2 separate regions of the Homo sapiens genome follow, and region 1 is linked to region 2. The links are contacts of gene promoters, found by promoter capture Hi-C in blood cells and fetal thymus (Javierre and others, 2016). All regions are on one chromosome and are shown on one strand. Each heading gives the region's core, a stretch centred on a gene start or on the middle of the fragment in contact. The rest is flanking DNA. Distances are from core to core; before and after follow the strand shown. Region 1 overlaps LOC101926964 (a long non-coding RNA gene). Region 2 holds the start of C1orf87 (chromosome 1 open reading frame 87).

Region 1 (6,651 bases), core at 2,490-4,989, 690 kb after region 2:
TTATTAACAGCATAAATTATTCTGGTGAGTATCTTCTCCTTAGCATCCTAAATTTTTTACAAGTATCCAGCTCTCTGCCAGGCAGCCCTACTTAATAACAACTTCTGACCCTTGAAGAGCAGTTTCCTTTGCTCAAAGCACTTTCAGATATATATTCTATTAAAACTCCATAATCTTTGCAGGAAAAGGCTCTTCCCACCACTTCTATCTTGTGTGTTAGTAAGAGACAAAGTTTACAGTAGAGCATGCCTCAAAGAGAAATGAGGTCACCAAACTAGAGAAACTGTGCAATAGCAGGTTGGGAGTAAAGCCAAGAATAATAATAATGCCTGTTACTATTAATAAGACCTAACTTTTAACCCTCAGGCTGACACAGCCTGAGATTCAGCATGGGTTGCACAGAGACAGTGCAGTGGGAGAGGAATGGGACATTTCTAGTCATATACACTGACTAACCCAAGACTGGCAGTCAGTGAAAGTGATGGGTAAATGGTCCTTGCGACCTAATAGGAGTTGAACAAGTGATTCTCTAGTGAGTAGATGAATGGATGAACGAATAAAATATTTATTTGTTTCCATTCATAAATACTTTTGAAGCACCTCTGTTGCATCAGGTCCTGTGGTAGATGCGGGGTTACAAAGATGATCAAGACATGACAGAGGGGCTTGGGCTACACCTATAAGACTTTTTTAGACTTTGAATCTGTCTTCAAAAAAACTAAAGCCCAATATGCAAAACAGTTCAAAACTTACCTGCTCCAAATCACAGCAGGCTGTGTGTGGTGGGAAGAGGGAGGAAAGGGCCTTCACTCTGGTGGGGTGTCTGAGGAAGCCCTGTGGCTCCCCGGAGCATTACTCAAAACATTGCCTTAGATGAACATTCAGGTGCTTCTGCAACAGAGATGCCAGGATTCTGTGGATGATGCATTAAGCCCTTGTAAGAGAGAAGGTTCTGAGGTTTAGAAGACAAGAAGGAAGGGTTCAGCACTCAGTATCTACAGAGGATGTTGCTAGAGGGTTCCTTGGAGACCAAGGGTTGGTGAAGGCTGAGGCTTTGAGGCAGAAAACTGTCATGGACATTAGTCATTTTTGTTGCTGCCCAGTATGAGTCTTGTTGTAGGATAAAATTGCTTCTCCTTAAAGAGGCAGCAATGCTAGATACTTGCTTTCCTGGTTTCATTTGCATCTAAGGCACAGGACTGAATCAAGATCTTAGGGACACAAGGAAACATGTCTCTCCTTGCGTTGCCTCTCTGCTCTCTTCTCCCTTCCCCTCTCTTACCCTCCCCTTCCGTCTCCTCCCTTCTCCTCTCCTATCCTCCCTTTCTCCCCACCTCAATGTCTGAGGTTGCAATGTCAGACCCTGACACAGTCAAGCAATGCTGGGGGATCAGGGAGCACTTTGCTCATCAGATCATTCCTCTCCAGCCCTCACCTCACACCTGCTCTGCAGCTTTCCAACCGTTCTGTGAGCTGCCCGATACCATCTAATAAATTTCTTCTCTCCTTTATCAGCCTGAGCCAGTCTCTGCTGCTTACAGACCAAAGCCATAAGAGGCCCAGGACACAAATGGGAAGACTGGGAGATAGGCATGCTTATTCTTCCTTAGAAGCTCTCCTGAAATCCAAGCTGAAAACTGGCTCCAACGGGGCTGCAAAAAAAAAAAAAAAAAAAAGCACTGAAAAGTTTCCAGTAGCGTCACCAGGGAAGAGTCCCAGGTTTTCTCTTTCAATACACAGCTTTAAAAAATGAAAAGATTTCCTATCCTCAAGCCTCTGTATTTATATTTTGGAAACTGTCAGCAAAGACAGAGGTTTCTTCCTGACCAGAACTTTGGTCAATCTAAGAGTCAGATGTTCTGAGGAGCCATTTTTCATGTGGGGAACTCCTTAAAGAGAAATCCAGGTGGCTGTCAGCCTAATAGCCAAGTTGTTGACAAAGCACAAGAGTTTCTGATATTTCCTGGACACCAATCCATATTGCTTTAACAGAATTTTGTTGCATTGAAGCTGATATTCCCCCCAAAATCATTAATCCAGTCTCAGCTACTTCTGTTGGTTGGAATTGACTTGGCAGCTGTACTTAGAGAGGTTCAGAGAAAGGAAAATATTCTCCTGTGTTAATTAAACAATGTTGACTAGAAATAAAGACCTAGTTAGGGAATCAGGAGTTAGGAAACGGGAGTTCTTTTCCTAGAGTTGCCAGTTTCCATTTTGTGACTTTGATGTTCCCTCTCTATGAAATGGGGAAAATATGCTTTATGAGATTCTCGTGGAGATATAACCATATATATATATTCTCGTGAGGACTGAATAATATCCACCCATAAAGTTTCACTGCTGTTATTGTTATTTCTTTCTCAACATTCTTAATATAAAGTCAGAAGCAAGGATGGCCAGAGATGCTGGGAAAGGCATATATACGGACGGCAAAGAAGAGAAGCTGCTATGATGAGAAGAAAGAGACTTGGAGTCAGAAGGTTGTGCTTCCCACCAGCTGTGTGATTGTGGACAATCTATTTCAGCTTCCTGAAACTCCACTTTCTTTGCTATAGCATAGAGATTAAATTGTGAGGATTAAATGCAATAACTATAAAAGTCTTGAGTACAATGCTTAGTTCATAGTACATGCTCAATGTTAATTTCCTTCCATTGTTCCCTGCTTATCAAAGAAGAGAGAGGCTTACGTACAGAGAAGTAAACCAAGAGTTGGCAAATACAGCCAGCAAGCTAAATGCGCCCACCATCTGTTCGTATAAGCAAAGTTTTTTTGTTTTTTGTTTTGTTTTGTTTTGTTTTGTTTTTGAGATGGAGTCTTGCTCTGTCACCCAGGCTGGAGTGCAGTGGCACAATCTCAGCTCACTGCTGCAACCTCCGCCTCCCGGGTTCAAGTGATTCTCCTACCTCAGCCTCCCGAGTAGCTGGGACTACAGGCGCCCACTACCATACCCAGTTAATTTTTGTATTTTAATAGAGACAGGGTTTCACCATATCGGCTAGGCTGGTCTCGAACTCCTGACCCTGTGATCCGCCCGCCTCAGCTTCCTAAAGTGCTGGGATTACAGGTATGAGCCACTGCACCTGGTCAGCAAAGTTTTATTGAACACAGACGTGCTCATTTGTTTACTATTTTCTATGACCACTTTAGTTGTTACAGAGATCACATAGTCTGCAAAGCCTAAAATATTTACTACCGGGTTTTTTATAGAAAAAGTTTTCCGACCCCTGACCTAAGCTACTCAAGTCCAATCTACACACTTAAAGCTTTCAAAACATAAAATTAAGACAATTTAATAATTTGCCTAAGGTCACAAGGGTACTTGGCAAGTGAATGGCAAGCTAATGAATGCCCCCTACTGGGCAGTAGAGGCGATGTTATGCGACATGGTTAACAGCTCAGACTAAACATCGTTCAAATCCAGGCTCTGCCACTTACTAGCTATGCAACCTTAGAGGAGTTGCAAACTTACCTCACACTGTGACTGTAGTGTTAATAATTTGTCATAATGACTCTTGAAAAATGACATCCTTTATTGTACAATGTCTTCTTTTTATCACTATAATAAATTTTTTTTTACCTAAAAACGTATAAATAAACAAGATATAAGAAGTGAAATTTTGACATTGGTGTCACAGGCAAAGACATAACCCTTATTTACTCAACACAACAGTTTATCTCGGAGATTACCAGATGAAACAAATCTGAATTGCACACCACTTGTGGATGAGCTCAGTACAGCTTGCTTTTTGTACAAATGTCAAGAAATTATTCAGTCTGTAGCTAGAGCTGTGGGGTTCAGAGCAGTGTATATCATATATATACCCCTCTCTTTCCAGATTTTCTTTTATTAGTTTTGATACATTTCAGAGAGAAACATCTCTGCCTTCAGATCCCCAGGGCCCTTCTTTCACAAAGCCCTGCTAAAAAGAAATAATCTGACCTTAGTGTTAACATATCACCATGAAGCAAAATCATTCATTGAATATTAACAATAACTCAGTTTTTCTGTGGAATAGTTGTAGAGGCTTTCTGAGTTTTAAGCCTTTTTAATCATTGTATACAATTTCAAGAGGATTTTACTTTTTTCTTGTAGAAAAAAAGACCACAAAAATGAGAAAAATAGAGGCTATTTATTCAAGGCTTACTATAGCAAAGGAATCAGCCATCGTCACTTCCATTTGGCAGAGACTCAAAGTCAGGCAGAAGAAGCAAGGAAAGCTTTATAGTTAAAAAAAAAAAAGAGAGAGAGAGAGAGAAAAGGGGGAGTGTTCAGGTATGCTCTAATTAGAAGTTGTTGGCATGGGGAAGCTGGAGACAGGCTATAAAAATGGGATATATTATGTGATTTTTTTTTTTAGGGAGTGATATGGTTTGGCTGTGTCCCCACCCAAATCTCATCTTGAATTGTAGCTCTCATAATTCTCATGTGTTGTGGGAGGGACCCAGTGGGAGGTAACTGAATCATGGGGGCAGGTCTTTTCTGTGCTGTTCTCATGATAGTGAATAAGTCTCACGAGATCTGATGGTTTTATAAAGAGGAGTTCCCCTACAGAAGTTCTTTCTTGCCTGCTGCCATGTAAGATGTGCCTTTCACCTTTCTCCTTCCACCATGATTGTGAGGCCTCCCCAGCCACGTGGAACTGTGAGTCCATTAAACCTCTTTTTTTTTAATATAAATTACCCAGTCTTAGGTATGTCTTTATCAGCAGCATGAAAACAGACTAATACAGGGAGCATATTTGGTTTTCTCTGGTTGGTCCGGAATTAGAAGTGAAAGCCACAAATAGGAAAGCTGGCAGTCATTGACGAAGTTCTGACTGTTTGGGGTCAATTGATGTGAAGGTCATGATTTGCTTTCCAGGATCAATAGCCAGAAAGGTTGTTGGTCAATGTTCTACTGCCATATATGATCTGGTCACTGTCTAGACAACGTCCCTCAGTCCCCCCTTTCAGTCATTCTCTCACTTGCAACAGGTTGGTCAATTCAAGGAAGACCAGAAATGCAGATCTTCACTGATGGAAGGTTGTCTGCTTGTCTCCATAGTCAACCGTATCACAAGATCTTCTTGATCTTTTTACTGCTGTATCATCATGACAATCATTTGATGAGAGAGCTGCTACACAAAAGCATTTAAGACTCTGGATAGAATATAATGAACAAGCTTACAACAACTTTGACCAAAACAAAGACAAGTAATAGTCCCACTAAGACAGCTAGACCCAGGAACCCCAATTGCCTAACTCAGGTAAACAGAATGAATCCCAGAGCCCAAGAGGATGAATCTTAGAACATCAAGTCACTTTTTCTTTAAGGTGAAGTGTAGCCTACTTGACTATGCCTGCTTCACAGATCTAAGTAAATAAGAATTATTAACAATGATACAAACACCACATTGACTAGCCAACAAGAAATTTAGAGTAATGACATTGTCCATCATTACTCCTGCCAACAAGTTGACATTGATCTGTACTCTATCTAAGGCAGAAGGAGTACATTAATTAATAACTTCTGCTGAGTTAATTCTAAGTTTCTTTCAATATTTTCTACTTGTTTGAGTCTCACCACTGGGATCATTCCTTTCATTGTTCCCATAAACAATGAGTAAGTAATTCCCCCAAATGGAGGACTTACGATGGAGCTATCAACTAAGTTAGAATTTCCAGCCTTGGTGATCTATAGAATTAGAATCTCTGTATACTGACAGGTCTTAGAATATTATTTCTAAAGTGCAGAAGAAAAGATGACCGGGAAGTCCTAGAAGTATATGATAGTGGCACATGGACACTTAGGAAAAAATTTAGTTGTTTATGGCATGAGGTCAGAATCAATGCTTTATTTTAGCTGTGTCACACATTTTTATCTTTACTAGTCTCTTCCAAGTGGCAAGAATTTGGCCAATTACCTTAAGAAAGTTGCTGAATTCAAATTTATATTACCTAAGTTCCAATCAATAGATTGTAACAATGTACTCCTTTTCTGGGGGAAAGAAGGACACTGGCAAAGTTATAGGTTGGTTCATTTTAGTACATTTGTCCTTGTAGGTGCAAATGGAAATGCAATCAGTAGTTCCTCATGGCTTCATTTGGTGAGACTGAAATTGCCCTAAGATATCATGGGGGTCCATTGATTAATGGCATATCCAAAAGTTGGTAAAGTTGAAGGCAGGGCTATGGTTTGGAATAATCAAAGAATGAGTTTGAATGAGAATGTTCCAACCTAATAGTTATCATAAAGATGAATGAAAATAAAAAAGAAGCCATTATGGGTGGACAACAATCAGGGATCTATAGAACATGAGAAGAAAAGTGTTTATAAGCAAGCAGATGAAAAACAAAACAGGAATTATACAGGGGTCTTGGTCTGGAGGGGAAGCTGTCCATTATCTGAGGTCATAAGATTGTTCTCATGGTCTCAGGTCAGAAGACTACTTCCAAAGATCACCTGCTTCTAGAGAATCTCTGAAAATCTTGTTTGAGGGTCCATATTAACATATAATGGCCTTCCAATTGTATGGAATTCTGTATTGTTTTTTTTCATTGTAAAACAGAAATCCAAGGATTAATTTCCAGGAGTTCCACTCCTGCATTTGTTGTTAAAGTACCTTCCAATGAGGTTTGAGTGCAGTTTTTCTATTATGTCTCTTCCGGCA
Region 2 (7,353 bases), core at 2,102-4,601:
ATCCAAAGGAAACAGCATTTTGAGGCCCTGGTTTATGAGTATAAACACTTTTGGGAAGACAGATTCTGCAGCATGAATGACATGATAGTGGCGGCACTTTCCTTACCTGAGCAACAAGAAGCATTTAAGAATTATTTATTTTTAAACATAGAAGAATATTTTAGCAATGCACATCAATTATCCTATGTCATCCCAGCAACAGTAACATGAAGTCTATAGGAAACACAACAAACAAGCAAAATATCCATCTTACTACCTAAAAAAATACCAATTGTTGTACTATAATAGGAGAGATAGAACTGCATATTTTATTTTACAATTAATTTAGCTGATTTAATGTACTCTTTTATTTCTTGGTTCCTGAAGGTTAGAAAACAAAATGGGGAAAGGCACCTTCCTATAAGATAAAGCTAACTTTTCACTATTTTAAAAATTAAATACTACTCCTTGCTTTCTGTTTAAAAACATATTAAGCTCCCTACCCTTGGAAAAAGCAAGGAGTTTGGGAGAGAATAAGGCTAAACAAATAACCTAAATAAGGAATGGAATAGTAATAATATAGTTTTCCAGGTAGGAGATCTGAGCCAGGTGTCCAAACTAATTCTATTTACTTTTCTTGACAGTGACAGGGATTTGACATATCTCAAAATAATCGCTTACCATATCACAGTGTCTTAGTTTCCTCATCTACAAAACAGACATAAACTGTGTCCTAGGCATAGAATATAAAAGGGACATCAAACATTTCAGAGAAAGAGGTTCGATTTTTTGTTACATTTTTTATATCTATAGAAAGACTTCTATAATAATAGCAGGATTATTTACTAAGCATGTTATTTATAATAGACACTGGAAAGGTGCTTTGCATACTTTTTCTCATTTAATCCTCACAATAACCCTATTACTAGATAGGTGTTGTTTTATCCCCACTTCATATATGTAGAATCTAAGGCCAAAGATGTTAATTCATTTTCCCAATGTCAAAAAGGCAAGAAAGAATCAGACCTAAGATTCAATTTCACACCTCTCAGCACTGTAGGGATCCCAAATGTATGAATCACGTGCTGCAAACCTCAGTTCCTGTGCAGTGGCAGACATTACTAACTGATTATAGCAGTCACTTTGGAATCCCTCTAGACCTTACAATACTGATAGTAGGGAAGTAGAACTAATGTGCCTTTCTAAAGCCTTATTAAAGCCTGTACTTCATAACAGCAGTCTTGGTGACCTACATTCAGAGATTTTGATTCAGCAGACCTTGAGCTGGTTCCTGAATCTGTATTTTTGAGGTCTCTCCCAGTGATTCTGATGACAGCTAGGTTTAGCAAAAATTTCTTCTTGCACCTATGTTCAACAATACCATATCTTTGTATATTTGTTCAGTCTATGAGTTTCTGAAATAGAAGATAGAGCTAAGGAAATAATCTTAGGAAGGAAAAGTAATTTTTGACTAGCTATTACTTATGGAACGCCTACTATATGAAAGACAGATCTAGTACCTTCCCTCCTTTTTTGAGCCACTGAAACTCTGTAAGAAAGAGCTAGTCATACTGTTCTGTGCTGAAACATCTGGTGAATATTAGAAATACAGGAGTGTCATCTCTTAAATGTGACTCTGATGGGTTTGGAATAGAAGAAAGAGATCTTAGCCATGATCTGAGAAGCCCAAGCTTAGAGGAGTATCAAATACAAACAGGAGTAAGTGAAAACCTTACAATTTATGATTCTGTATTAATCCTACTCCTGTAATTCACAACAAATTGACTATTAAACCTCCCCCACTCTCCCCAAAATTAGTACATGTGGTAGATTACAAGCCCGATGAGAAAAGGCAGCAGTGCTCCATTAATATTTATAAATGTCGCAATGCTCATATTTCCCATCTATTTGGAAAATCAGCCCAAGTAATTAAGGAGTATGGGGAATTATAAAGATGAAAAATATCAGGAAAACAGTGCACATGGAAGTTATCAACACGATTTTACCTCTACTGTTGCATCTTAATGACTTCGTTTTCCATGGATGGCATTTTTTAAGTTTAAATTTCTGGGTGAAAACAAAACAATAAAACTTCATTATCATCCAAGCAACATAGATATTTTTCAAATATGGACTTACATCTTTGGCTTCTCCACGAGGTATTGAAAGTGTTTACTTCCAATGATTTTCACCATGATCTCAGGCATTGCATCTGATCCACGGGGAGTCTTCCAGGCTGAAGACATGATTCCTTTCAAAATCCCTTCAGATCCCTAGGGGTGAAAATAAGTAAATTGTTCCTCTTGATTTTCCATTAGGGAACTGCATCATCCTTGCCAATAACAACAAGCAATAATAATAGCAGGACAAAGTGTTTCACCTATATTACCTCACTTAACACTCCTAACAAAGGCATGAGAAAGATATTTTTAACTACTATTATCATTTTTGTTTTACTGTTGAGGAAACAAGCAAAATGTAGCTATATGACTTACTCACATCACATCACATCACCAGTAATTAGCCGACTTGGGAATCTCACCTAAGAGGTCTGTACAGCAGATCTACTGAATCATTAGGTGACTCTACCTTCCTGTACTACAAGACATAGGATGGAATTCCAGTGAGGTCAGAGCAGAAACAAGGGCATTAGTGGGACATATGAAGAATCCATATTCAGTTCTGATGTTTAGTTTCCCCATTTATGAGATCAGGGTAATTCTAGGTCTGTTCTCAGGGACTTGAGGGTGAATCCAAGGAGATAATGCATCTGAAGGGAGACTGTACACAAGACAGACAGACTTTTGTTGTTATCACTGATCTCTTTCTACAACAATACAATGAATCTGAAATTGAACTCCTGCACAAGGTGTTTAAACAGAGTGATGCCAAGGGAAAATCAGAAGTTCAGTAAATCTGGCCACAGCTGAACACTCCCTTTTAGAACCACCCAGAGGCTGAAAGGCCTTTAGAAATCATTCTACTCCAAAGGCTCCTTCACAGATTGGAAAACTAAGGCCCAGAGAGGGTGTGTTATTTGACAAGGGTCACAGAGGAATGAAGGACGGGACTGTTTCCAGTACTTGGGTCTGATGTCTAGGCCAGGGTTCTTCCCAAAAGTCCAATACTAAAGACCTGTGCTAGGGCAGCCCCTCATCCCGGGGACCTGCAGCCTCTTTGCACCTGTCTGGAATCTTCCAGACCCGGAACTCGTGATCCTCAAATCCCCTCCCTGCCCAGCAGCTGCGTGTCGGCCCTGATTGCCCGGAGAGAACAGAGTCGGGGGGCTTACCGCTAGGGCAGCGTCCCCACCCTGGCAGCTCAGAGGTGCGCGGTCCGTGCTTCTCCCCAGGAAGCTGACACTCTCAGACCCGGGGACGGGACGGGGCGTGGGGACCGAGCCCAGGAATCCGGCCAATCACAGGGCCCGCATCGCGGGCGGCGCCTGTTCCGCCCTGGTCGCTAAGGACGCTGAAGGCTGTTTCTGGGCGGGGACCAGGTTTTTCTCCACTGCCTAGGCAATGGACCCAGGCTCTGGCTGCCAACGGGTGAAGAGCCTAGGTGTTTTTGATCTGTGCCTTCTCTGTTCCTCAGAGATATGCGGGCGTCCTTCTAGAAGCCCATCTCGCTCACCTGTGTGGTCACCCTTGTCCCGCCCTTCCTCCGAAGGCTTCATTTCCCTTTGTGAGTTTGCACATAGTTGAGATTCCAACACAGTAGGTTCAAATCCAGACGTCTCCACTGTATGGCTTGAGTAAATCCCTTCTTTTCCCTGAGATTGTTTCCTCATCTGTGAAACGGGGCAAAATAATAACACTGTCCTAACTGCGATTTGGTGACTAAATTAAATAAGAATATCGGCCGGGCTCAGTGGTTCACCCCTGTAATCCCAGCACTTTGTTAGGCCGAGGTGGGCAGATCACGAGGTCAGGAGATTGAGACCATCCTGGCTAACATGGTGAAACCCCGTCTCTACTAAAAATACAAAAAATTAGCCGGTCGTGGTGGTGCGCGCCTGTAATCCCAGCTACTCAGGAGGCTGAGGCAGGAGAATTGCTTGAACTTGGGAGGTGGACCTTGCAGTGAGCCAGGATGGTACTACTGCACTCCAGCCTGGGCAACAGAGCGAGACTCCATATCAAACAAACAAAGAAACAAAAAAACCAGAATATTATAGATTGATAATAATAACGTTGAGTACTGTCTCTATGCCAGATCCCTATGACAAGCTGGATAACTCTCACCTCACAAGTTAATAGTTATAAACAAAATAGTTTTACTTTATTTTAAAGAGAAAAGAAACAAGTTGGGGTATTGATAAACTACTCCAAATCCTGCAAAAGCAAGTACAGAGCTAAGATTAGAATATAGATCTGCATATCCTACATTTCCAGACAGTTGTTATTATGCTAAAAGAAACTTCAGCTGATGCAGGCAAAGACACTTTAGATTGATTCCCAAACGGTATTGTTATTTGCATCAACATAGGCAGCAGCAGCTCCAGCATCTGTTCCCCTGTCTCCTAACCTCTAGCTGTACTGTGCTTTACAGGTGAATATATCACCCACTGGCACATGCAGCCAGAGGTGGACAGCACACTCAGCTCCCCTCCAGGGGCTCACTCTCTAGAGGGTGAGACACACAGCCACATTCTATGATATAGAAAGTGTTAAGGGAGCAGAGAAGCGGGGACAGCTCCCTTCTCACTCCTCCCTCCTAGCCTTCACGTTGCTTCCAGATCAGTCTTCCCAAGGCCCAACTCTGACAAGCCCCCTCCTCTACTCAAATGTCTGAAAGATCTCATCAGCCACAGCAGGTGTCTGTGGTTTCAAGACCTTCCACTATCTGACTTCAAGCTAGATCTCTAGCTTGATCTCCCACTACTTCTCCTAGGCTTGTTATGCTGCATCCAACCCAGTCTACTCACTGGCTTGAATCTCCCTTTCATATCTCTGCCTCAGTGCCTTTGTTCACTTTGTTTCCTCTGCCTATAATGCCCTTCCATTTCTCACTGTGTCAGCCTGCCTATCCATTCTTTAAGTTGGATCTCAAATGATATGTGAACTTGGGAATCAGACACTTTGAGTTCAAATCCTTGCCCTGCTAGTTCAGTGTAATCTTGGGCAAATCACTTAACATCTTTGTGCTTTAGTTTCCTCTTCTATACAATGAGGATGACTTTTTGTGAAGTTTAAGCGAGTTATATAAGAAAGGAACTTAGAAGAATGCCTGACACATAACGAACAATATAAATGTTTGCTCTTATTTTGGAAGAAGCCAAACTGGATTCCAGAGCTGAAAGTGGCTTCTTCATCTTATCTATAACTTGTGGTTTCTCTCTTAGGAAATATGTGTGTCTTTGTCTGAGAGTGTGGTATTTATTTGCTTTGTTTGTCCGGGCTTCTCGTGCTATGCTGTAGAGGGCTGAATAATGCCCCTCCCTCAAGATGTCCACCTTTTAATCCCCAGAACTTGTGAATATTACCTTCCATGGCAAAAAGAACTTTACGGATGTGATTAGGTGAAGGAACTTGAGAGGAGAAGATTATCTAAATTTTTCAGATGAGCCCTAAATGTAATCACGAGTGTCTTTATAGGAGGGAGGTGAGAGAGATTTGATGACAGAAGAGGAAGTAAATGTGACAATGGAGGCAAGAGGGTACAGGGATTTGGGGAAGGGATCATGAGCCAATGAATGCAGACGGCCTCTGGAAGCTAGAAAAGGCAAGGAAACTGATTCTACTCAAGACCCCCAGAAGGAATCTATTCTGCTGACCCCTTGGCTTTAGCCCAGTGAGACTGATTTTGGATTTCTAACCTTCAAAAATGTAAGACAATACATTTGTGTGTGGTAATTTATTATATTATCCATGGGAAAATTTAACGTCATGCTATTGAAGGACTCTTCTTTTCTTTTTCTTCTCTGTGTTTGTTAAATATCCAGAACAGTGTCTAGATTATAGTGTGCTCTACAAAATTTTTTGACCAAATGAATGAAGGAGAATAGAACCAAAATTAAGTATTAAAATTTCTCTCTAAAAAATACTATAATGAAAATGGTACAGGTGGGAGTTTTGTCTACCTAAAACGCTTGCCTATTCTTTCTTTCTGTGAAATGAATGCTTTCTTTGGGAATCTCTTTTCCTATTTCAAGGAGTCCTTGTGGGCATTTTCAATCAAAGTGCTGCTTGATTATACTCTATGTCTTAAGAAGGCCAGAGTTCTTATCAATGACCAATGCACCTGACCCTTGAACAATACAGAGGTTAGGGGTGATGACTCCTCATGCAGCTGAAAATTTGCGTGTAACTTTAGACTCCCCCAAAACTTAACTGCTTATAGTCTGCTGTTGACTGGAATCCTTACTGATAACATCATAAATTAACACATATTTTGTATGTTATATGTATTATATAATGTATTCTTATAATAAAGTAAGCTAGAGAAAAGAAAATCTTATTAAGAAAATCATAAGGAAGAGAAAATGTATTTACTAAGTGAAAGTTATCATCATAAAGGTCTTTATCCTCAACATCTTCACATGGAGTACGCTGAAGAGGAGGAGGAAGAGGAGGTATTGATCTTGCTGTCTTGGAGGTAGTAGAGCTGGAAGAAAATCTGCCTATAAGTGCACCTGCACAGTTAAAACCTGTGTTGTTCAAGGATCATTTGTACACACATGTAGGAGGAAAAAAGTTTATATCTGTTAAGATTACTAGACTGTGAGGATAAGGTGTTGATATCTGTATCAACACATACTGCAATTTTTCAGAGAGGAGGAAGAACTCAGCCAACAGAGAAAAGCAGAGCTGAAAATGGAGCCAGTGTGGGGAAGGAGAGGAAAGCAAAAAGCCTGGATCCAGCTATGCCTGAAATTAGAGATTCCAGAACTCTCAAACACACGAGTAATAAACATCCCTTTTGTTTATAATATTTTGAGATGACTGTCATTAATCTTTACCCAAAGAGACCTAACATAGAGACTCTTAAACTTCAGGTTATTAAATTTTATCTATAGGATACAGTTAATTGATTGGATGGCATTTTGAGTTTTCCTATAAATTCTGTGATAAAGCTTGAAGGAGCAAATCGGTTTCGATCAAATTAGTTATTCTACTAAAGACTATCCTTTGACCTTATCTTGACTCCGTAGGTTTTACAAATGCCAACTTGAAATATAGTGGCATTGGTGAGAGGCTTTCTATTGGGCAGCTCTTCTACCAGTTTGATGGTATTCAGGTGAAATCTGATCTATTTTTCAGACCCGAGGGAACTTCTGCTAAGTGACCTCGAAGAAGTAATTTAACTCTTTTATCTGTAAGGTGGAGAAAATAATAATTACCCTCTAAGGTTGTTATCAGGATTAGAGATAAT

Evidence for each region. The method cuts DNA at HindIII sites, captures the fragments that hold promoters and counts their contacts. A CHiCAGO score of 5 or more calls a contact.
Region 1: a fragment that was not itself captured here is called in contact with the fragment with the promoter of C1orf87 in region 2 in 4 of 17 cell types (M2 macrophages, M1 macrophages, M0 macrophages and 1 more); the score reaches 8.6 in M2 macrophages.

What each region holds. Positions count from the first base shown.
Region 1 is chr1:60,762,043-60,768,693 of GRCh38, forward strand. The region is part of intron 1 of LOC101926964 (a long non-coding RNA gene); the gene reads right to left. Among named protein-coding and RNA genes, the nearest start is that of LINC01748, 140 kb to the left of the region's middle. The HindIII fragment of the contact is 955 bases long and covers 3,263-4,217 here.
Region 2 is chr1:60,070,419-60,077,771 of GRCh38, forward strand. C1orf87 (chromosome 1 open reading frame 87) reads right to left here and starts at 3,352. Exons shown (of 12, transcript NM_152377.3): 1 at 3,272-3,352; 2 at 2,119-2,252. The coding sequence starts at 2,225. The HindIII fragment of the contact is 5,384 bases long and covers 1,669-7,052 here.